Linked DNA regions of Homo sapiens: all the other regions are linked to region 4. Evidence: promoter capture Hi-C in 16 types of primary human blood cells and fetal thymus (Javierre and others, 2016). All regions are on one chromosome and are shown on one strand. Each heading gives the region's core, a stretch centred on a gene start or on the middle of the fragment in contact. The rest is flanking DNA. Distances are from core to core; before and after follow the strand shown.

The links. The method cuts DNA at HindIII sites, captures the fragments that hold promoters and counts their contacts. A CHiCAGO score of 5 or more calls a contact.
Region 1: a contact is called between a fragment that was not itself captured here and the fragment with the promoter of OR10W1 in region 4, in 1 of 17 cell types (endothelial precursors). The highest score is 5.7, in endothelial precursors.
Region 2: a contact is called between a fragment that was not itself captured here and the fragment with the promoter of OR10W1 in region 4, in 1 of 17 cell types (endothelial precursors). The highest score is 7.5, in endothelial precursors.
Region 3: a contact is called between a fragment that was not itself captured here and the fragment with the promoter of OR10W1 in region 4, in 1 of 17 cell types (endothelial precursors). The highest score is 8.0, in endothelial precursors.

What each region holds. Positions count from the first base shown.
Region 1 is chr11:57,818,802-57,824,507 of GRCh38, forward strand. It overlaps CTNND1 (catenin delta 1), which reads left to right. Exons shown (of 21, transcript NM_001085458.2): 21 at 1-739. TMX2-CTNND1 (TMX2-CTNND1 readthrough (NMD candidate)) reads left to right here. Exons shown (of 21, transcript NR_037646.1): 21 at 1-379. Among named protein-coding and RNA genes, the nearest start is that of CTNND1, 60 kb to the left of the region's middle. The HindIII fragment of the contact is 1,710 bases long and covers 2,236-3,945 here.
Region 2 is chr11:57,875,423-57,880,977 of GRCh38, forward strand. No RefSeq gene overlaps it. Among named protein-coding and RNA genes, the nearest start is that of CTNND1, 120 kb to the left of the region's middle. The HindIII fragment of the contact is 5,774 bases long and covers 900-5,555 here.
Region 3 is chr11:57,854,085-57,859,624 of GRCh38, forward strand. No RefSeq gene overlaps it. Among named protein-coding and RNA genes, the nearest start is that of CTNND1, 95 kb to the left of the region's middle. The HindIII fragment of the contact is 1,656 bases long and covers 2,012-3,667 here.
Region 4 is chr11:58,265,842-58,271,142 of GRCh38, forward strand. OR10W1 (olfactory receptor family 10 subfamily W member 1) reads right to left here and starts at 2,419. Exons shown (of 1, transcript NM_207374.3): 1 at 951-2,419. The coding sequence starts at 2,017. The coding sequence ends at 1,100. The HindIII fragment of the contact is 7,272 bases long and covers 716-5,301 here.

The DNA of each region.
Region 1 (5,706 bases), core at 1,841-4,340, 450 kb before region 4:
ATACGTAGCTCTCTTAAATATAACACTTAGGACTAGAAGATTAGAAACTACCAATCCCAACTACGTAATAGGAAAATGTAGGATCAAAAGGCCCATGTATATAAGTACTGACCACTGGGCCATAATGTTGCTTCTCAGGCTATATGCAGTCCTTTAGTCAGAAGTCAATAGGCCTATTTATTAATATTTTACAGACCATATTACCTGGATTACCAGGGACTATCTTTGCTGCAGAGATCAAGGGTTAAGATCTATGGGAAGATACTTATTTTTCTGAGGTCCTTATGTCCTGTCATATAATTAAAGACTCAAGAGAATTTATGTGAAATGCTTTCTGTATGCCCAAATCTTTAGATTAAAATTATATAGCTGCTCCTGATGATGGTCCTGTCTTGTTTTATTGAACTAGGACTTGGGTATGAAAACTTTCATGGGCTAGTGAGACCAGGAAATCAACTAGCTTTTAAAGCTTGATTTGTGTCTAACAATTGTAGTGTTAGATTAGAGGTTGAAGTACAAAGCCAAAAAGCTATTAAGAGTTTACTTTCCAAAGAGTTTTGATAGCCCTGCTTGAGATGATTTTTATCTAAATAGAAAAGCCTGGCTGCTTGTCAGCAACACTTTATTTCCCTGTTATGTTCTTATCCTTTGGCATTGAGCTAGATACAAACCCTACTCTTCTCTCTTCCTTCTGGATTGGTCCATTTGTTTATCTCATTCAATAAATATTTGCCAAGCACCTCCTATATGCTAAGCGTTGTGTCAAGGTTAGGTTTAGATTAGAGAGTGAAACAGATGGATCTTTTCTCATAGATTGCAATCCATGAGAATCCTCTATAGCTAAGATCTATGATCAGACGAGATCGTGTGCGTTCAGGGTGATATGGCCATAGACAAGATCTATGATCTTAAAAACACTTCTCTCTGTGCCATATCTAAATACAATGAGATGTTACACAGAATGATGTGTAAAGGCCCTATCTCACAAGTTTCTTGACACTGATGTACTTTGTGACAGAGGTCAAAGCTGGGACCTCACTTGGCCACTTTTTTTTTTTTAGACAGAGTCTTGCTCTGTCACTCAGGGGCACAATCTCGGCTCACTGCAACCTCAGCCTCCTGGGTTCAAGCGATTCTTCTGCCTCAGCCTCCCGAGTAGCTGGGATTACAGGTGTGTACCACCACGCCTGGCTAATTTTGTATTTTTAGTAGAGACAGGATTTCACCATGTTGGCCAGGCTGGTCTCAAACTCCTGACCTCAAGTGATCCACCCTTCTTGGCCTCCCAAAGTGCTGGCATTACAGGTGTGAGGCACTGCGCATGGCCGGCCACTTGTTTTTCTTGCTGAACTAATTTTCTTTGCTACAAACTGGAATCACCTCACCCAGGAAGAACTAAGAACCAGTCTTTCCATATCATTTTTTTCTCATTTTGTCTATTTTTATATCTGAAGCAAAGGTTCTTAATATTTTCATAGATGGAATTGACTAGACCTAGCCCTGTATATCTGAGCAAGTTACATAAGAATTCCCTGTATGCTTGTTGAAAATGCAGAGTCCCATGTTCCATTTCCAAAAATCGATTCAGTAGGTGGGACTGAGGAATCTAAAATCATGGTAAGTCATCCAGGTTATCCTCTTTTTTTTTGTTTTTGTTTTTGTTTTTTTTTTTGAGACGGAATTTCACTCTTGTCACCCGGGCTGGAGTGCAATGCCACGATCTCAGCTCAGTGCAACCTCTGCCTCCCGGATTAAAGCGATTCTCCTGCCTCAGCCTCTTGATGAGCTGGGACTACAGGCACCCGCCACCACATCCAGCTAATACTTGTATTTTTAGTAGAGACGGGGTTTCACCATGTTGGCCAGGCTGGTCTTGAACTCCTGACCTCAGGTGATCCATCCACCTAGGCCTCCCAAAGTGCTGGGATTACAGGCATAAGCCACCATGCCTGGCCCATCCAGGTTATTCTGATGTATGTGGTCAGTTAACTGTGACTTAAGGGACTGATCTAGTGACTTGCTTAAGGTTATAGCCTCAAAGTGGAACCCAGGATTACTGGCTTCAACTCCACTGGCAGTAATACTAGCATGGTGAATGTAGACAATATGATGTGGTGATCACCATTTTAAGAGAGCATTCATAGAGGAAACTTTATCTCAAAGGAATGCATTGCTTTCAATAGAGTTTGAGATAATGGTAAGTGATAGGTTGGTGTGTGGTATCTGGGTAGGAGAAGCTTCTCATCCTGAAAATCATATGTAGGTAATGCTCAGGTTGCTGAGGCAGGAAGCTAGCCCTTAATTTGGGGTCCTGTAGGTCACAGAGAATCCCCTGGAATTGCCGACTTTGACTTAAGTGTCACTTCTAGCTACAAAGGGTATCTCAACTGGCGAGCAAGTGGCCCCATTGGCTAAAGCCAAGGAGACCACATCTGGAAACTTAAATCACTCTGGTAGCTTCCAGAAAGAGCTACCTCAGGAAAGCTCAAAAAAGAAACAAGATAATTGTTAGGAACAATTTTTTTTCACACAGCTTTAAGACTGTTCTGTTGCCTGTGTCACTTAAAGCATTAGTTCTTCAACTGATCCATCCAGGATTTAGAGACAGACATGGATGAAGAGAAAGCTGGAGGAGGTAAGATAGGTTGATTGGTCTGCATCATTTTAACCTGACATTTTTCTCCTTTTATGCAGTGTAAAATGACCATGGATAGCTATCCATGAATGGACTAAGAGCTTTACACTTGTTATAATTGTAGGAGCTATAAGCATGTGGCAACTAGCTTTAAAATTTTTTTTTACCTGAGAAAAAGTGCTATACTTATCTCCATATACTACTTTATTTTTTAAAAAAGACAGGTTATTCCACTTTTATTGAGGACACAAAAGTATTACTACCCTGCTGTCTTTTCCCCCAGTATCTCTAGTGCTAATGGACAGTGCCATAAGACATTTATGCCTGAGGAAAAAGAAATATGGGATATTTGTGGTGATGTTCCAGTCAATTACCCAATTTTTGTCTTCACCTCAATTCTTTTTTTTTTTTTTTTTGAGGTGAAGTTTCGCTCTTGTTGCCCAGGCTGGAGTGCAATGGCATAATCTTGGCTCACTGCAACCTCCGCCTCTTAGGTTCAAGCAATTCTCCTGCCTCAGCCTCTGGAGTAGCTGGGATTACAGGCATGCGCCACCACGCCTGGCTAATTTTGTATTTGTAGTAGAGACGGGGTTTCTTCAGGTTGGTCAGGTTGGTCTTGAACTCCCAACCTCAGGTGATCTGCCTGCCTCGGCCTCCCAAAGTGTAGTGATTACAGGCGTGAGCCACCATGCCTGGCTCACCTCAATTCTTCTTTTCCTTCCACCTTAAAGGCAGGCTTAGCTTTGGTCTTACAGTTCACGCGTTGGCAGAATCGGGGCAGGGGGAGTGCGTTGGTGTGCGTATTTGAAACTAATTCAGGGCTCTGTTTTTGGCAGTATGCTGGATTAGATAATTCTGAAAAGTCCTTTCAGCAGAAGCAACCAAGATACTGGGTAAATATATTTATAAAAAATACTTTTAAACATATTGCTGAGCAGGCACGAAAGTAAGGAACCTACGGCTCTTCAAAATGAAGCAAAAGCTGGAATCCTAGGAAGTAACTGCCAAAGCCAGCTTTTCCTCAGAATTTTTGCCAAATTCAGCAGACCATAACCTTCTATTTTAGTGATTACACAAAGTATGGGCAACAGGAAATGAGAAATCTAGTAGGTTCCCTCATAAAGCTGGACACCCTCAGTGTAAAGGTGAACAAGAAATAAACACTCCATAGAAGGGCGCAGCAAGGAACTCATTTGTCTCAACCTTAGTGGCACATGGAAACTATAGAATATTTTCCCTGATGATTTATAACCACAAATGGCCTTCTATGGGCTTTCAGTCCAAACTTAGGCTACCTGTGTGGTCCAAAAAGCTTAACTGGGGAATTTAAAGTGGTACTCATTTGTTTATGCTTCCAGGTGATTTTCAGAAGCAAATGCAATTCCTCTAAGGCCTCAGAACAATTCCCATAGATATACTTTCAAGGCAAATGAGTGCTCTTGCCCAAAAATTATAAACTGAACAAAGAAATAAGGCACAATGAGTGAAAAGACAGACACAGAAGCTGATCTTTTAAATACTTCAGATGTTGGCATTGTTGCACAGACTATAATGAAATAACGATTAATGAACTTTTTGAATTAGTGGAAAAACCTTTTTGAATTAGAAGTGAAAAATACAAATTTGAGGTAAGAAGTCAATGCATGGATTAAATAGATTAGACAAATTGAAGGAGGATTTGTGAATTGGAAGATAAGAAATTATACAGAATGCACTCCAGATAGAGAATGGAAAATAGGCAAGAGGTTGAGACAACAATGGAATAAGATCTAATAAACATTATTTGGAACATCAGGAGATAGGAGGAGGCAATATTCAAAGAGAAATTTTTTAGGGTTGGATGAAAGGCACCAAACCTCAGACTTAGGGAGCCCAGTGAATCTCAAGCAAGATAAACCAACTTACCTAGTACATCAGGGTGAGATGCAGAAAACCAAAGAAAAGATTGTGGGCATCTGGAGAGAAAATACAGACTACCTGTAGAAAACCAGCCAGATGGTGACTTCTGTGTCAACAATGAAAGCCAGGAAACAGTGAAATTTATCTTCATCATGTTAAGAGAAAAAGGAACTTATTATGAAAGCTTACCTGAGGTGACACTTTTTAAAAAGCTACTAAAAACATTTTCCGACAAAAGCAGAGTTTCCACTTACAAAAGGATGTCCTTGAGGTGGAAGGAAAATGATCTCAGATGGAGAATCAGATGCAAGAAGGAACACTGAACGAAATTGCTAAAGCCTTCACTGTAAGAGGAGTGTGTAATTTATGGGAGAGAAATACAGACTAGAATTAAAATGCTGGACAACAATAGCATGTAAAGTTGAGGGAGCAATTACAACACTAATTTTCGGGTTCTTCAGGAGGAAAGTAAAGATACTGATAAGACTTGAAAAACTAAATAGATTGGTACAGAAGTAATTGCATTGAAATGGCAAAAACTGCAATGACTTTTGCACCAACCTAATACATATTAGCTGGAATAACCACTAAAGAATGAATATAGGACATATAACTTCCAAACAAGTAGAGAGGGAAGAAAGCAAAAGGAGTATGGGCAAGGTTAGTACTGGTGCTGCATCTGATGGAACAAGCTGAGCCTGCAGGGCAGTGGTGGTAGGTAGTGGTGAAGCCCCCACCTTTATATCACAGCACTGGGTATAGCGTGTGGCAAGTTAAGTAGATGTGTGCAGCAAAGAGCAGAGTGAAGAACAAGAATAGGGACAAAGGGAATAGCTCCAAGACAATTTCTATAAAAGCAAAGTTAAAAATTGGCTGGTAAGTGAGTTGGTCAGCCTGGCTTAAAGACACAGTCAGTACAAATGCTTTCATATTTTGCTGATGAAATTGCAAAGTCTTCTGTAATCCCAGCACTTTGGCAGGCCGAGGTGGGCGGATCACGAGGTCAGGAGATCGAGACCATCCTGGCTAATGCAGTGAAACCCCATCTCTACTAAAAATACAAAAAATTAGCTGGGCGTGGTGGTGGGCGCCTGTAGTCCCAGCTACTCGGGAGGCTGAGGCAGGAGAATGGCGTGAACCCGGGAGGCGGAAGTTGCAGTGAGCCGAGATCA
Region 2 (5,555 bases), core at 2,537-5,036, 390 kb before region 4:
GGACATTTTTTTAAAAAGCACCAGGAAAGGATAGAACGTTGGAATTTGCTTTAAAATAATCTGGCTGGGAAGAGTGGAAAGATAAAGCAAGAACTGATTATAAAATGATAAATGTTGAGGCTGAGTGATAGGTACATGGAAGTCAGTTTATTATACTGTCTGCTTTGGTATATATTTGAACCTTTTAATGGTAATTTTTAAAAACATCGAAGCATCATAGAAAAATTAAAACTTTGTTGCAATTCCTTATACTGAAGTTTTTTTTCAGTTTGGAACTGGGTTAAAGAAAATTCCTAAGTGAGGCTGGGCTCACTGGCTCAAGCCTGTAATCCCAGCACTTTGGGAGACCAAGGCGGGCAGATCACTGGAGGCCAGGAGTTCGAGACCAGTCTGGCCAACATGGCGAAACACCATCTCTACTAAAAACACAAAAAAATTAACCGGGTTTGGTGGTGCACACCTGTAGACCCAGCTACTTGGGAGTCTGAGGTGAGAGAATCTCTTGAACCCAGGAGGTGGAGGTTGCAGTGAGCTGAGATTGTGCCACTGCACTCTAGTCTGGGTGACATAGGGAGACCCTGACTAAAAAAAAAAAGAAAGAAAGAAAATTCATAAGTGGAGTGGTATGCACATAATTTTTCAGTGCTGCTGGAATTATAGACGTGAGCCACCATGCCCAGCTCAGCACTCATCTTAACAGGAAATAAAGCTGGTGTTCAATGAGAAGTGACTTACCCAGGGTCATACAACTAATTAGTTCTAGACTCAAAATTGTAACCCGTGTCTCTTGGATTCCAGTCTACAAATCTTTATGTGGTCCCATCATCCTGTCAAAGAGTGCCTGGTCAATAATTTGGCATAAATGAATGCACAGAGCTTTTTGTCTTGCCCTAACAAGAAGCTTCAGTACTTTGTTACTTTGATTTTTTTGGGTAATTTTTTTTTAATTGAAAACACAAAGATTTAGATGTGTCTACCACTTGACTTAATAAACATGAATATTTTTGTTATACGTTTCAAATATGTTTATTTTTTATTTGTATTAAAAAATTTTTTCAGAGATGGGGTCTCATTCTGTTGCCCAGACTGGCCTCAAACTCCTGGGCTCAAGCGATCCTCCTGCCTCCTCACCGTCTTGAATAGCTGGGACTTCAGGCACATGCCACCATGCCTGGCCTACATACATATTTATTTATTTGAGATGGAGTCTCACTTTATCACCCAAGCAGAGTGCAGTGGGGCGATCTTGGCCCACTGCGAGCTCCGCCTCTCAGGTTCAAGCGATTCTCCTGCCTCAGCCTCCTGAGTAGCTGGGATCACAGATGCCCACTACCATGCCTGGCTAATATTTGTATTTTTAGTAGAGAGGGAGTTTCACCATATTGGCTAGGCTGGTCTCGAACTCCTGACCTCAGGTGATCCATCCACCTCAGTTTCCCAAAGTGCTGGGATTATAGGCGTGAGCCACTGTGCCCAGTTTACAAGGTGTTTTTTTTTTTTTGAGACAGAGTCACACTATGTTGCCCAGGCTGGAGTGCAGTGGTGTGACCTTGGCTTACTGCAATCTCCACTTCCCAGGTTCAAGTGATTCTCATGCCTCAACCTCCCGAGTAGCTGGGATTACAGGCATGTGCCACTATGCCCAGCTAATTTTTGTATTTTTAGTAGAGACAGAGTTTCACCATGTTGTCTAGGCTGGTCTCAAACTCCTGACCTCAAGTGATCCTCCCGCCTCAGCCTCTCAAAGTGCTGGGATTACAGGCATGAGTCACCATGCCCAGCCTTACATAAATATTTAATCAGATAACACACTACAGGTCATTGAAATCCCTATGTATTCTACCCGAGTCCTATGCCTCTCCCTTGCTAGAGAGACAACCATTATCATAAATTTGGCTTGTATCCTTCAGTGCAGGAAAGCATAATTTTCAAAAAAATTAAAACAATAAGATATTGGATTGGATATTCAAGTGGTTCTTGTCCTATATGCAATAAACTGTAAACTTTGGGGCTATCTTTTCTATAAGACAGAAATTATTTGCATCTCTACTGAACAAGAATGTGTAAGTTAACATGTAATTTCACTAAATTTGAGACTTTTAGTCAATAGGAAGCAGTGAGTCAAATCAAGTATATTCTCCTGAATTACCCTTGGTGGACCTATTAAATCTATTAAATAATGTCCCCATATGATATTGAAAGGACATCCCACACCTTTTCCCATTATTTCCACGTTTAGAATAATTTTTTTTAGCAAGTCTATATTTTACTACTGATGTGAATCTATAAGTAATAATAATAATCATGAGCATTTATTGGTGCCAGCACTCTTTTAAGGCAAAGGTACATATTAAGTCCATTTAGTCCCTCGACACCAACATTAGGTCCAATTATTATTCTTATTTTACAGATGGAAAACAGACACAGAGAAGTAAATTCCACAGTTATATACAGTTAGAAAGTGGAAGAACTATGATTTAATCCCAGAGTTTACATATTAGTTTGCCATTTGCTGTTTTGCTCTCAACATAATATTTTGAAGAACTCTTCAGGATGTTAATATAGTTATTAAAAAAAATAGAGATGGGGTGTCTCTTTGTTGCCCAGGATGGTCTTAAACTCCTGGCCTCAAGCAATCCTCTCACCTTGGCCTCCCAAAGTGCTGGGATTGCTGGCATGAGCCACCATGCCCAGCCAATGCTAATAACATAGTTATAGTTCATCATTCATTTTAACTATAATTTTACCATAGAGTGTTCCACTGTATATAGTATGTATCTGGTTACATACAACGTGTGTGAACCGTCACTTTATGTTAAATGAAGTAAACCAGACTCAAAAGGACAACTGTTGCATGATCTCACTTATACAATGATATGGTTTGGAATTGTGTTCCACTCAAATCTCATGTCCAGTTGTAATCCCCAGTGTTGGAGGAGGGGCGTAGTGGGAGGTGATTGGATCATGGGGGAGGACTTCTGCCTTGCTGTTCTTGTGATAGTGAGTGAGTTCTCATGATATCTGGTTGTTTAAAAGTGTGTGGCATCTGGCTGGGCGCAGTGGCTAACACCTGTAATCCCAGTACTTTGGGAGGCTGAGGCAGGTGGATCACCTGAGGTCAGGAGTTCGAGGCCAGCCTGGCCAGCATGGTGAAACCCTGTCTCTACTAAAAATACAAACATTAGCTGGGTGTGGTGGTGCCCGCCTGTAATCCCAGCTACTCGGGAGGCTGAAGCATGAGAATCGCTTGCACCCAGGAGGCAGATGTTGCAGTGAGCTGAGATAGTGCCACTGCACTCTGGGTGACAGAATGAGACTCCATTTCAAAAAAAAAAAAAAAAAAAAGTGCGTGGCACCTCTCTTCTTCCTGCTCCAGCTATGTAAGACATCCCTGCTTCCCCTTCACCTTCTGCCATGATTGAAAGTTTCCTGAGGGCTTCTCAGCCATGCTACCTGTACAGTCTTCAGAACTGTAAGCAAATTAAACCTCTTTTCTTTATAAATTACCCAGTCTCATGTATTTCTTCATAGCAGTGCAAGAACAGACAAATACAAGATAACTAGAATAGGCAAATTCATAGATACAGAAAGTAGACTAGGGGCTGGGGGAAGAAGGGAGGGAATGGGAAGTTGTTAATAGGTACAGAGTTTCTGTCTGAGATGATGAAAGATTCTGAAAAGGGACAGTGTTGATGCTTGCACAATATTGTGAATGCACTTAAATTGTATATGTACAATCTATATTGTATGCAATATACTTAGATTGTAAATTGTATATTTGAATGGTTAAAATGATAAACTCTATGTTAAAAAGAGAGGATGTGATGGTTCCTGACTTCCAGGCTTGCTGTAAGAGTTAAATGATAGACTACTTGTGAGAGAACAGGAACACATTGCAGATACTCAGTAAATTGTAGCTGCTGCTAGTTTCTTCCTCCTCTTCTCCCTCGTTTCCTTAGAAAAAGTCAAAAGAGCATGGCTTTTCTTTTGATCTGTATTAATTTCTGAGTTCAGAGTCTGAACATACAATTGTGTAGCTAACTTCCCACTGTCTACATGGGGCCTACTACCCCACCTACTGTCATTTCTTTTTTTTTTTTTTTTGGGACAGTCTTACTCTGTTGCCCAGGCTGGAGTGCAGTGGCATGATCTCAGCTTGCTGCAACCTCCGCCTCCTGGATTCAAGCGATTCTCCTGCCTCAGCCTCCCGAGTCACTGGGATTACAAGCATGCTCCAAAATGCCTGGCTAATTTTTGTATTTTTAGTAGAGATGGGGTTTCACCATGTTGGCCAGGCTGGCTTGAACTCCTGACCTCAGGTGATCCTCCCACCTCGGCCTCCGAAAATGCTAGGATTACAAGTGTGAGCCACTGCGCCCGGCACCCACCTGCTGTCATTTCTAACCCTACCAGGTGGCTGCCTTTCTCAGCCTGGGCTTTTTTACTTTGCCATCGTTGGATGAGTATTTAGAAAGCTCCAGTTTTTCTTAGTGTTAGCCTCCACAAGCACTTAGAAGGAAAATCTGCTGTCAAAACACATTACCTTGTGGGTTTCTGAGACTGAGTTATGTTTGGGGTATCTGTGCAACTGCTGTCTTCCCATGGATGCTGATAACCAAGTGCTGACTGTGAAGGACAAATACAGACATAGAAATGGAGGTGAATGTGTGGACTTTGTTGATTGTTTAAACAGCATAAGCCCAAAGAAGCCAATTTATATGGAAGTGAGAGTAGGTGGGAGAGAGCCCAAGGAGGCCGAAAGAGCATGGCTTTTGCAATTAAACAGGTAAAGACAATCTGGCTTCATCACATTTACCTCGGTTACAATTAGCCTAAGGTTTCTGTTTGCAAAATGAGCGTAAAATACCACAAAGTGTGGTTGTAAAGATTCACCTGAGAGGCATGTCAGTTTGTAAAGCATGGGTTAAGTCTAATTGCCTTCCTTCTCTATTTTGGAATAGAATGAATTAATTAAGCAGGTGTTTTCTCATGGACCCACAAAATGTAAAGTAGAGGAGAGGAAGGACCAATATTTCCCAATAGATAAAGAGAGAAAAAAGAATAGAGTATGTGCGAGGATGGCAAACTTTGTGTAAGGTGAGAAGAGAATAGGGCTTAGGTTTTAGTAGGAGCTTAAAAGAATAACTTGCTGAATTAATGGAATATTTGTTAGATGGGTCTATTACATTTGTCCAGCTACAAGTGACAGAAAACTCAAGCAAGGTGACTTAAGCTGTAAGAATATTTATTCTTTGTTTACAAGAAGTTTTGCAGTGGTCTTGTCAGGAAATGTCTTCTGCAGAAGCCAAGAACCAGCTGGCTGATTTCTCCTAAAGCTCATTGGCCAGATGTATATCATATGATCACTTCTAGCCACAAAGGGCCTGGGAAAGAGCAATTGGCTTATCAAGCCTCTATAGTTTGATGCAGTCAAGAGAGAAAGGGTGGACATTTTTGTTGAGTCTGTAACAGTGGGCTTAGATTGGTAAGAAAGACAAGCATGGTTACTTAATCTACTGATACCAGGTGAGGCTCAGAAAAATGTGCCCTGGATG
Region 3 (5,540 bases), core at 1,590-4,089, 410 kb before region 4:
TTTGTTAAAGGATTTTTATCTAGATTGTGTAAGAACTCTTACAAGTCAATAATAAAATGACAAATAATCCAACTAATAATGAGCACAGGATCTGAATAGACAGTTGTTTCCAAAGAAGATATCAAAATGGCCAGTAAGCACATGAAAAGGTGCTCAAGATTTTAGTTATCAGGAACATGCAAATCAAAACCACAATGAGCTACTGCTTCATATTCATTAGGATGGCTATAATAATAAAAGACAAATAATAAGTGTTGGTGAGGATGTGGGGAAATTGAAACTCTCATGCACTGTTGGTGAAAATGTAAAATGATGCAGCCACTTTGGAACAGTCTGACAATTCCTCAAAAGGTTAAACATAGAGTTTCCCTATAGCCTAGCAATTCCTCTCCTAGATATATAACCAAGAGAATTGAAAATATATGTTCATGCAAAAATTTGTACATGAATGTTAATAGCGGTATTGTTCACAATCGCTGAAAGGTAGAAACAATCCAAATATCTATTAACTGATAAATAAATAAAGAGTAGTCTAGCCATATACCCATACAATGGAATATTATTCAGCCATAAAAAGGAATGAAGTACTGATACAAGGTACTTCATGGATAAACTTAGGAACATTTTGTTAAGTGAAAGAAACCCATCTCTAACACATTTTTTTGTGATTCCACTTATATAAAATGTCAAAATAGGCAAATTATTGTGGCAGAAAGTAGACTAATTATTGCAAAGAACTGCAGGGTATAGAGGGATTGGCAGATGGTGGCTAAAGAGTACAGGGCTTCTTTTTGGGATAATGAAAATTTTCTAAAATTGATTGTGGTGATGGTTGTACAGTTCTGTAAATACACTAAAATTCATTGAATTGTATGCTTTAGTTTTATTTTATTTTATTTTTTGAGACGGAGTTTCGCTCTTGTTGCCCAGGCTGCAGAGCAATGGCAGATCTCAGCTCATGGCAACCTCCACCTCCTGGGTTCAAGCGATTCTCGTGGCTCAGCCTCCTGAGTAGCTGGGATTACAGGCACCCGCCAACACGCCCAGCTAATTTTTGTATTTTTAGTAGAGATGAGGTTTCACCATGTTGGCCAGGCTGGTCTCGAACTCCTGACCTCAAGTGATCCACCCACCTCGGCCTCTGAATTATATACTTTAAATGGGTGAAATGTATGGTATGTGACTTGTATCTAAATAAAGCTGTTACAAATAATTTTTTAAAATAATTGTTTATATTTAAGAGATATGGAGCTAGGTGAAGATGAACAAAAATTAATGAATCAAAATTCAGGTAGTCATTAGCTTTTACATGACTATCATTTCCATATATTACACATAAACACTTCTAAACTTTTCTATACCAAATTTTGACTTTCTTATTTTAGTAGACAAATAACTATTTCAAGTTACATTATGTTACTGTTGTCTGCCAGCCAATAGTTTCATTTTAGCAGTGTTGCCATCTAAATATGGCAATGTCTGTGCAGTGATTTGAACATTTTGTTGCATATTTGCCCTTATTTATAAAAGTATAGTGGAATTGGAAAAATAAAGTGCTGATGTTAATGATTTTCCAATTGTGTCAAAGGAAGCTATTATTTAGTATGCCAGAAACAGTAAATTTTGATGCTTATCAAATTTAAGCAGATCTGACAACTGTGTTCAATTATAAAAGAAAACAGTCAAACTTAAAACACATGTACAAAATGTTATAAGTATGTTGGCAAAGCTTGTGGCTAAAAATAAGGTGCAGTCATGGAACAAATGTGTGGATCTTTACAACTACGTGTAGCAGAATATTATTTTGATGTATCAGGTTTTTTTCCAGATAATATATATATTTTTTAACCTGGGGGTCCTTCCCAGTTCAAACTTGACCTCTTGGCAGCCATGCCTCGGGATAGGGTTGTTGCAGCATAGTGCAGATACCAAAGAAGTCAATCCTTGGCCTTTGAGGTTTAAAATATGTTTTGGAAACTCAAGGTAGAGATAAAAACCTTTGTGATTAAAAAGCTTTTGAACTTCAAAAGCTAGAACCATCCTGAGAATAAATTCAGAGAATAACCCAGAGAATAAACTCAGGCCTTAACCACAGGCACATGAGAATATGTGATCAGTCAGAGCCAGTTTTTCCAGTGTCTTCTTTTCTCTTAAAGACTAGAAAAAAATTCCTTAGACTTGTAAAGTGAAGACAGTCAGAGGAGAAGTGAGCTCTAAGTCTGGTGAATCTTTAAGGAGGAATCTATCCAGTGGCCCAAATTGCTAGAGCTTCTGCACCTTTTTTCGTTTTTCTTTTTTTTTTTTTGAGATAAGAGTCTTGCTCTGTCACCCAGGCTTGAGTGCAGTGGCGCGATCTCGGCTCACTGCAACCTCTGCCTCCCGGGTTCAAGTGATTCTCCTGCCTCAGCCTCCCGAGTAGCTGAGACTACAGGCATGCACCACCACGCCCAGCTAATTTTTTTGTATTTTTAGCAGAGATGGGGTTTCACCATGTTGGCCAGGATGGTCTCGATCTCTTGACCTTGTGATCCACCCGCCTCGGCCTTCCAAACTGTTGGGATTACAGGCGTGAGCCACCACGTTCGGCCGCTTCTGTGCCTTTTGAAGTGTAGACATTGAGAAGAAATGTTCGTGTGGCAGGGCCAGGCAGAGAGAGTCTGAGACAATATTCCTATGAACCCAGAGTGGCATGGGACAGTGGATGGATGTGTCCACTGCCCTCTGAGAGGGAAAAAGGAGTAGCTGAGAGCCTGGAGAGGCTTTCCTTCTGGGACATGGAGTCATAAATATGATCAACGTGGTTGGGCAGTTGGAAACCAAATGGGAATAAAGATGTTATGGTAAATGCCAATATGCAGGTATCCCTCTCTGTCCCATTCTTATTCCTTGGTACTTTGTGAACCCTGAGAGAAGGAATATGCCAAATATCATTTCAAGTAAACTGAATGAACAAGGATTTTGAGTTGCAAGGATACACCAGAAGGATTTTGAGTTGCAAGGATACACCAGAAGGATTTTGAGTTGCAAGGATACACGCCTGTAATCCCAACACTTTGGGAGGCTGAGATGGGCAGATCACGAGGTCAAGAGATGGAGACCATCCTGCCCAATCAACATGGTGAAACTCCGTCTCTACTAAAAATACAAAAATTAGTTGGGTGTAGTGGCACACGCCTGTAGTGCCAACTACTCAGGAGGCTGAGGCAGGAGAATCGCTTGAACCCGGGAGGCAGAGGTTGCAGTGAGCCAAGATTGCGCCACTACATTCCAGCCTGGGTGACAGAGCGAGACCCCGTCTCAATAAAAACATAAATAAATAAATAAATAAATTAAATAAAATACAATCTGTTTTTAATAGTTTAAATATCTGCATATGGTGTATAACATTCAGATGTAAAATCAAGTTAAGCATTTATATCATGTTTGAGACGTCATAATTTTTTTCTCTAGCTCTATGGATTGAATTCCTTCCTTTCCTCCTTTCCTCCTTCCCCCACCAAATAAAACATTTAAGTATAAAGTTCAAATTTCAGGCATTCTACTTTCCAAAACATTTTCCAGGAAAGCATTATGTATTATTAAAGGCAGGGACTGTCTGAATGGGAAAATAGCTTTCCTACCCACCCCCCATTCCAGAATATTGCAATGAAAATGATCAAACCACTGAAGCTTCTAGTAGTTTATCAATTTTTATCATGGGCTTTTGTCCATCCAGTTGCAGCATGACCATTAGAAATAGATAAATTCGGCGGGGCACCCGGTGGCTTACACCTGTAATCCTAGCACTTTGGGAGGCTGAGGTGGGCGGATCCCCTGACGTCAGGAGTTCAAAACTAGCTTGGCCAAATTGGTGAAACGCCGCCTCTACTAAAAAAATACAAAAATTAGCCGGATGTGGTGGCAGGCACCTGTAGTCCCAGCTACTCTGGAGGCTGAGACAGGAGAATCGCTTGAACCTGGGAGGTGGAGGTTGCAGGGAGCCAAGATCGTGCCATTGCACTCCAGCTTGGGCAACAAGAGTGCAACTCCATCTCAAAAAAGAAAAGAAAAGAAAAGAAATGGATAAATTCATTGCAGTCTGTTCATTTACTGTCTTGGGGCAAACACTCAGTTAGTGGGCCTTATTCCTTTGCTACTGAGGAGAAAGATGGAGCCTGGGTCTCAAGCCCACCTTTGCTGTACCTTTGCCAAATGGTACTGTATGCTTGCCGGCTAGAAGGAGGGTGAGGGATTTTTTTACAGCCTGAGAATGAGTGTGTGTGAGTGAGGTGGTATCCACATTCTTACATTCTTTTTTTGTTTTGTTTTGTTTTTGAGACAGAGTCTCACTCTGTTGCCCAGGCTGGAGTGCAGTGGCGCGATCTCCACTCACCGCAACATCCACCTCGCAGGTGCAAGCAATTCTCCTGCCTCAGCCTCCTGAGGAGCTGGGATTACAGGCGCCTGCCACCACCCCCGGCTAGTTTTTGTATTTTTAGTAGATACGGGGTTTCACCATTTTGGCCAGGCTGGTCTCGATCTCCTGACCTCAGGTGATCCATCTGCCTTGGCCTCCCAAAGTGCTGAGATTACAGGCATGAGCCACCACCGTGCCCCGCCTGAGCCAACACTGCACCCGGCCATTCTTAACTCCAAGTCATTGCAGTTTCTTTTTCCCAGAAAACAAGGGGTTAGATGTTGCATTTCATAAAACTAACCAAAGTTCTGTTTACTGATGCAGCACAAGAGATGTAAAAAAAAAAAAAAAGGTAGTGGGCCTTATTATATCATTATAGTGAGAATAGCCCTGGATTTTGAGTCTAAATGGTTTCAGTTCTTTGTCATCTTTGTGGTCTTCATTTTTGTTTCTGTCTTTATACATATTTTTAAATAAAACATCATTAAAACTATATAGTTCAAAAATATTATTTTTCTTTTTAAAAAATTTATAATAGAGACGGGATTTCACCATGTTGCCCAGGCTAGTCTTGAACTCCTGGGCTCAAGTGATCCACTTGCCTCGGTCTCCCAAAGTGGTGGGATTACAGGCGTGAGCCACCGTGCCTGGCCTCAAAATATTATTAATTATAAAATATATGATACATACAAAAGTGTATTAAAACCTCTGGCATTTAAAGAATATTGCTAAAATAAACACCCATTTTTGTACCATCCACCTTAGAAATAGAACTTTACAAATATCTTTAATAGCTTATGAATCACCTGGGGATCATTTTAAAGTGTGGATTCTGATTTAGTAGGTGTGTGAAAGAGTCTGAGATTCTGTATTTCTAACAGGCTACCAAGTGACCCAGATACCAGTGGGCCAAGGATCACGCGTGGAGTAGCATGATCTGAGATGGCTCCCGTGTGCTTCTCCTAATTCTATCCCTTTTATCTCCATAAGAGGTAGACACTTTCTTAAATTTTGCATCAATTATTCCTTGTTTTATTTTAAATAGTTTATCTGTAATACATTTTTAAACATTATAACTGTTTAGTTTTGCCTATTTTAAAATTTTATACAAATGAAAAAATAAGTTGTACATTCTCTGTGACTT
Region 4 (5,301 bases), core at 1,169-3,668:
TCTTTTCTTTTCTTTTCTTTTCTTTTTTTTTTTGAGACCGAGGGAGTCTCGCTCTGTCCCCTAGGCTGGAGTGCAATGACGCAATCTCAGCTCACGGCAACCTCCGCCTCCTGGATTCAAGCGGTTCTCCTGCCTCAGCCCCTCAAGTAGCTGGGATTACAGGCACACGCCACCATGCCAGGCTAATTTTTGTACTTTTAGTAGAGATGGGGTTTCACCATGTTGGCCAGGCTGGTCTCAAACTCTTAACTTCATGATCTGCCCACCTCAGCCTCCCAAAGTCCTGGGATTATAGGCATGAGCCACCGCAACTGGCCTATTTTCATTTTTATGTATGATGCTATAATAAACAACAAATTTGTTCTGATTGTTCTCTGTTTGACCCTGGTTCTCTAGGTTTTTGTCTGCCTTTCCCTGTGCCCTAGGAGACTGACTTCTGTGGACTGATTCACCCAGTCTCCCCTCCCTTCTTGCTGCCAGTTGAGTTTGGTCCATGGAGACAGGGCAAGAAATGGAAGATTTTGAGCAAAGAGACGCTGGGGTATTTGCCTCCCTGTCTCTTCCTTGCATGGCCATAGTTCTGTCATAGTTTCTTTTTATTTCTGATGCCACAGTTTCTACCAAGTGGTTTATCTGCTTAGATCTAACTGTCACTGGACTCTGATAATGTTGCACCCTTCTTCTATGGCACACCTTTTAAGTCTAGGGCTGAGAAAGCTTCCTGCTATTGCTAGCGTGTTAGTGCTCTGCCACATTTTATTGGTTTCCTTACCTATAACCACTGCAGATAACCCTTTTTAAATATTTTTTTAGTTAAAAATCTATTGAGTGAGCTATCTCTTCTCAGCTGGTAACTGGACAAAGTATTATACTTGCCACTTTATATCACTTTATGCTCATGTAGTTCTTTCCAAGAAGAGAAATTACAGAGTCAAATTGTAGAAATATTTAAAAATCTTTGGCACACATAAACAGTATCCATATAATTTATACCATCTTTTAGATGAGTTTTAACACCAAATGATAGAAATCTCAGTTTCATACAGATTTGGTGGGCTGGAACCAAATACTTGCCTGATAGGCTGTCCCCTCGTCTTTCCTAGCTGTTCTGGGAAAGGCAGTTCCTGGTAAGAACTCTCCCTACGGCCCCTTTCATCTCACTGTTCCTCAGGGCATAGATAAGTGGGTTGAGCAGTGGGGTTCCCAATGTGTACACCAGTGAGATGAACCGATCTTGCTTGGGGTTGTAGCTGGAGCTGGGGCACAGGTACATGAAGGCACAGCAGCCATACTGCAGCAGCACCACAGTGAGGTGGGAAGAGCAGGTGGAGAAGGCCCGGTGGCGGCCAGCAGCCGAGTGGATCTTGAGCAGAGCAGCCACTATGAAGGTGTAGGAGGTGGTGATGAGGAAGAAAGGCACAGCAATGGCTAGTATGGCTGCCACCAGCACTGACTGCTCATGAATGTGACTCTGAGCACAAACAACATGCATGACTGGTGGCACATCACAAAAGAAGTGCTCAATGCCCTGAGCCTGGCAGAATGGCAGAGAGAAGATGAAGGCCACCAGTTGTAAGGACAGGAACAGACCACTGATGACTGATGCCACAACCAAGTGGACACAAAGAGTCAATGTCATGAGGAGAGGGTACTGCAACGGGTGGCAAATGGCCACATAGCGGTCATAGGCCATGGCAGCCAAGAGGAAGCAATCAGCACTGCCCAGTGCAATGAAGAAAGCCATCTGGGTGGCACAGCCCAGGAGAGTGATGGTCTTCTCTGACTGTAGGGTGTTGGCCAGGATATGGGGCACCACCACTGCAGTGTAGCATATTTCAATCCCAGAAAGGCTGCCCAGGAAATAGTACATGGATGTGCATAGACAGGTTTCTGTGTGAATGGACACCACAATGAGAATGTTCCCAGTGATGATCAAACCATAAACCAGGCTGACCCCAAGGAAGGACAGAATATGCAGTTCTGGGCAGGAGGGATAGGCCAGGAACACAAATTCCATCAACACTGAGTGATTTTCCCAGGTAATTGAGCTAACAGTATTTCTCTGTGGAGAGCTACAAGTACAGAAGGAAGAATCAGACTGAAGATAAATTAAGTTACACTCTGAGCCATGAATCTAATGTAATCAGCACTGGAGTTAGAAACTGGAAGGATCAAGACTAGTTCTTTTTCTTTTCTCCACTTTTACCAAGTTTCTCCACATTAATATCTACACCTCAATTTCTACCTGCCAAGAGTTGGGCCAAACTATGTAAGATACTATTGAAGAAAAATGGCAGAGGAAGTGGGTGGGATTCAGGAGCTATTTTCAGAAAGAGTGGAATGAAAATTCAATTCTTTCAGCAAATTCACAAGAAAGTGTCAAGGAATTCTTGGGGCTAGAAATCATTAAGGTAAGGGAGATAAGCCATTTATTCATTCACTTATTCATTCACATATTTATTAGGTTGGTGCAAAAGTAGTTGCGGTTTTGCCATTTTGATGGCAAAAACTGCAATTACTTTTGCACCAACCTAATATTTACACTCAATATCTCCTGGGGTATTGAATAAGTGATATGTCAATGTAACTCTCAAAACTAGTGATGGGAAGTGAAGAAAGAAAAAAAATTACCCATGAAGCAAAGGGCTAACAGAGGCCTGAGTATGACAGTGTCAGGGATACGCCTCAGAAAGCAAAGCCCTGTCTACTATTGGTTTTTCTATCCTTATCTGACCAGAAGTATAAGGCTTGAAGGAAACAAGGTGTTTTATCATATGTTTCCTCCTGGCGTGGGTGGAGGTATGAGAAAATATGTGATCCCAAGATGTTGGAAATCTAAGAAGCCTTCCTGTGAATTTGGGCATGATTATGAAAGTCTAAGCCCATCTATTTTTCATATTTCTCAGAAGCTAATGTGAAATCTGGGAGAAGCCATATCTTTTCCACAAAAACCTTTTAATAAACAGACGTAATTTGCAAAGGGCATCCATTCCACTTCTTTTCCCAGACCAACTCATATTAAATAAGGTGGAAAAGACGTAATGTGTGGCCTTGTTTCAACGTGCCAAATTTTAATATTTCCTGTCATTGAATATGAGATTTGAAGAGAAATCTCTACCCAGAGGCACCACTTCCAGTAAAAATTATTCACACAAACCCACCTCAGTGTCACAAGCATGGGGAAAAATATGAGTAGGCAGCTACAAATATTAAGAGCACCTAGGGCAGAAATGGCTCTCTGCTGTTTTTCCAACAGCTAACAAGTGGTATCTATTTCAGTTGGTCTCTTTTCCTGAGCTGAACTTCAATAATGCTTTGAGTGGTTTCTAATGCCACTTAGCATATTGCACATTATACTATATCATGTGGAGGAGGGGCAGTGTATCAATGTGAAATCAGCAGTGAAGGGAAGTGATGTGGTTTGAATAATTCCAGCTCCTGGCTTCATGATGTTAGGTAATATATAATTTCTCTAAGCCTCAATTTCTGTATTTGAAAAATGGGAATAATAATTATACTTAGACAAAAGAATTGCTGTAAGTTTAAATGCAATAGTAATGTAAGATATCACAATGAACTGTCCATAGTAATGGCAACCTAATAAAAGATAATCATCATTATTATTTATAAATTCAAGGGCAGCCATTCTGCTTTATTTACATTTTGATCATCCCATATAAGCACGCCTAATGTTGTGCAAATTTTAGACACTCAATAATTATATGTCGAATGGATAATACAGCTTGAAAATGTTATTTATACATTTTCTTCATTTTCTACTTTCACTTTGCCGTGCAATGAAAGATTTAAGATTATTCATAATCAAATCACTTGTTTAGGAGTCCTTATATAAAACAACTTCGTATCTAAGATTTGGGCTGCACTGTGGAAATAATTCTATCATTCAAGAACATAGCATATGGAAGTCTACAACAGGCACACATCTAAAGGCTAGTCTACCATCTATATTATTATACAGAGACAGTTTGAAATCTGTGTCACAATGACAACTTCTGAGAATTTTATTGTAGTCTATTACATTCATATCATCTTTTCAAAAAGTTATATTTTGTTTTTAATTGACAATAATAATTGTACAATGTGATGCTTTGATACATATACACATTGTGGAATGATCAAATCAGGCTAATCAGCATATCCGTCATGTCATATAGTTATCATCTGAATACTGCTCTCTATAATATTTGTAATCTGAACACTCCACCTATAATAAAATATTTAAAATATTTACATCAGAGCTATTATAAGTCATAAATTCTAACTGCAAGAAGGGACCTCAAAAATGGCCAATTTGATCCCCAGTTATTAGATACTTGAATTTCCAATACAGTGTGTAGACACTGGGTCACCTTCAATGCCCAGGGAATCCCATTATCTCCTGGTTTGCTTGCTCTGCTGTGGAAAGACTGGATTCTCTGAAAGTCATTTCTGTAATAAACTGAAGCCTGCCTCTGTGCAACTTCTAAATGTTCCTTTGTTCTACACAATATGGCCATTTTTTTCTTTCTTTCTCTCTTTCTCTCCCTTTCTTTCTTTCTTTCTTTCTTTCTTTCTTTCTTTCTTTCTTTCTTTCTTTCTTTCTTTCTTTCTCTCTTTCTCTCTTTTTCTTTTTTTAGATGGAGTTTCACTCTTGTTGTCCAGGCTGGAGTTCAATGGCATGATTTCAGCTCACTGCAACCTCTGCCTCCTGAGTTCAAGCGATTTTCCTGCCTCAGCCTTCCAAGTAGCTGGGATTACAGGTGCCTGTTACCAGGCCCAGCTAATTTTTTGTATTTTTAGTAGAGGTGGGCTTTCACCATGTTGACCAGGCTGGTCTTGAACTTCTGACCTCAGGTGATCCACCCGCCAAAGTGCTGGGATTACAGGCGTGAGCCACCGCACCCGGCCCAATATGGCCGTTTCTACTCAAAACACCAGATGCTAAAGCGCTGTTATCCTGTAGCCCTGTTTTTTTTTCTTCCTAATTTCCTTTTGCTATTTCTCATATGACATGGTTTTGATGTGTCTCACAATTTAAGCTCTGGAAGTGTTCTCATTTAAAATATCTTTTAAAAAATTGTGCAGCCTGTGACAGATCACAGGAATGGTTACATTAAATAGATCTAGACAGATAAAATAGTGGAGTTCATGGTTCCAAGACAGTGAAAATTGTTTTATCAACACATCCATCAACTTGCCATTCCAAGTTGTTACTAAATATGTTGCATAGGACAGACGCAAGATAAGAACACTTCATCATCCTCAGAAACCTCCCCCAAGATCTCAGTGTTTCCAGGTCAA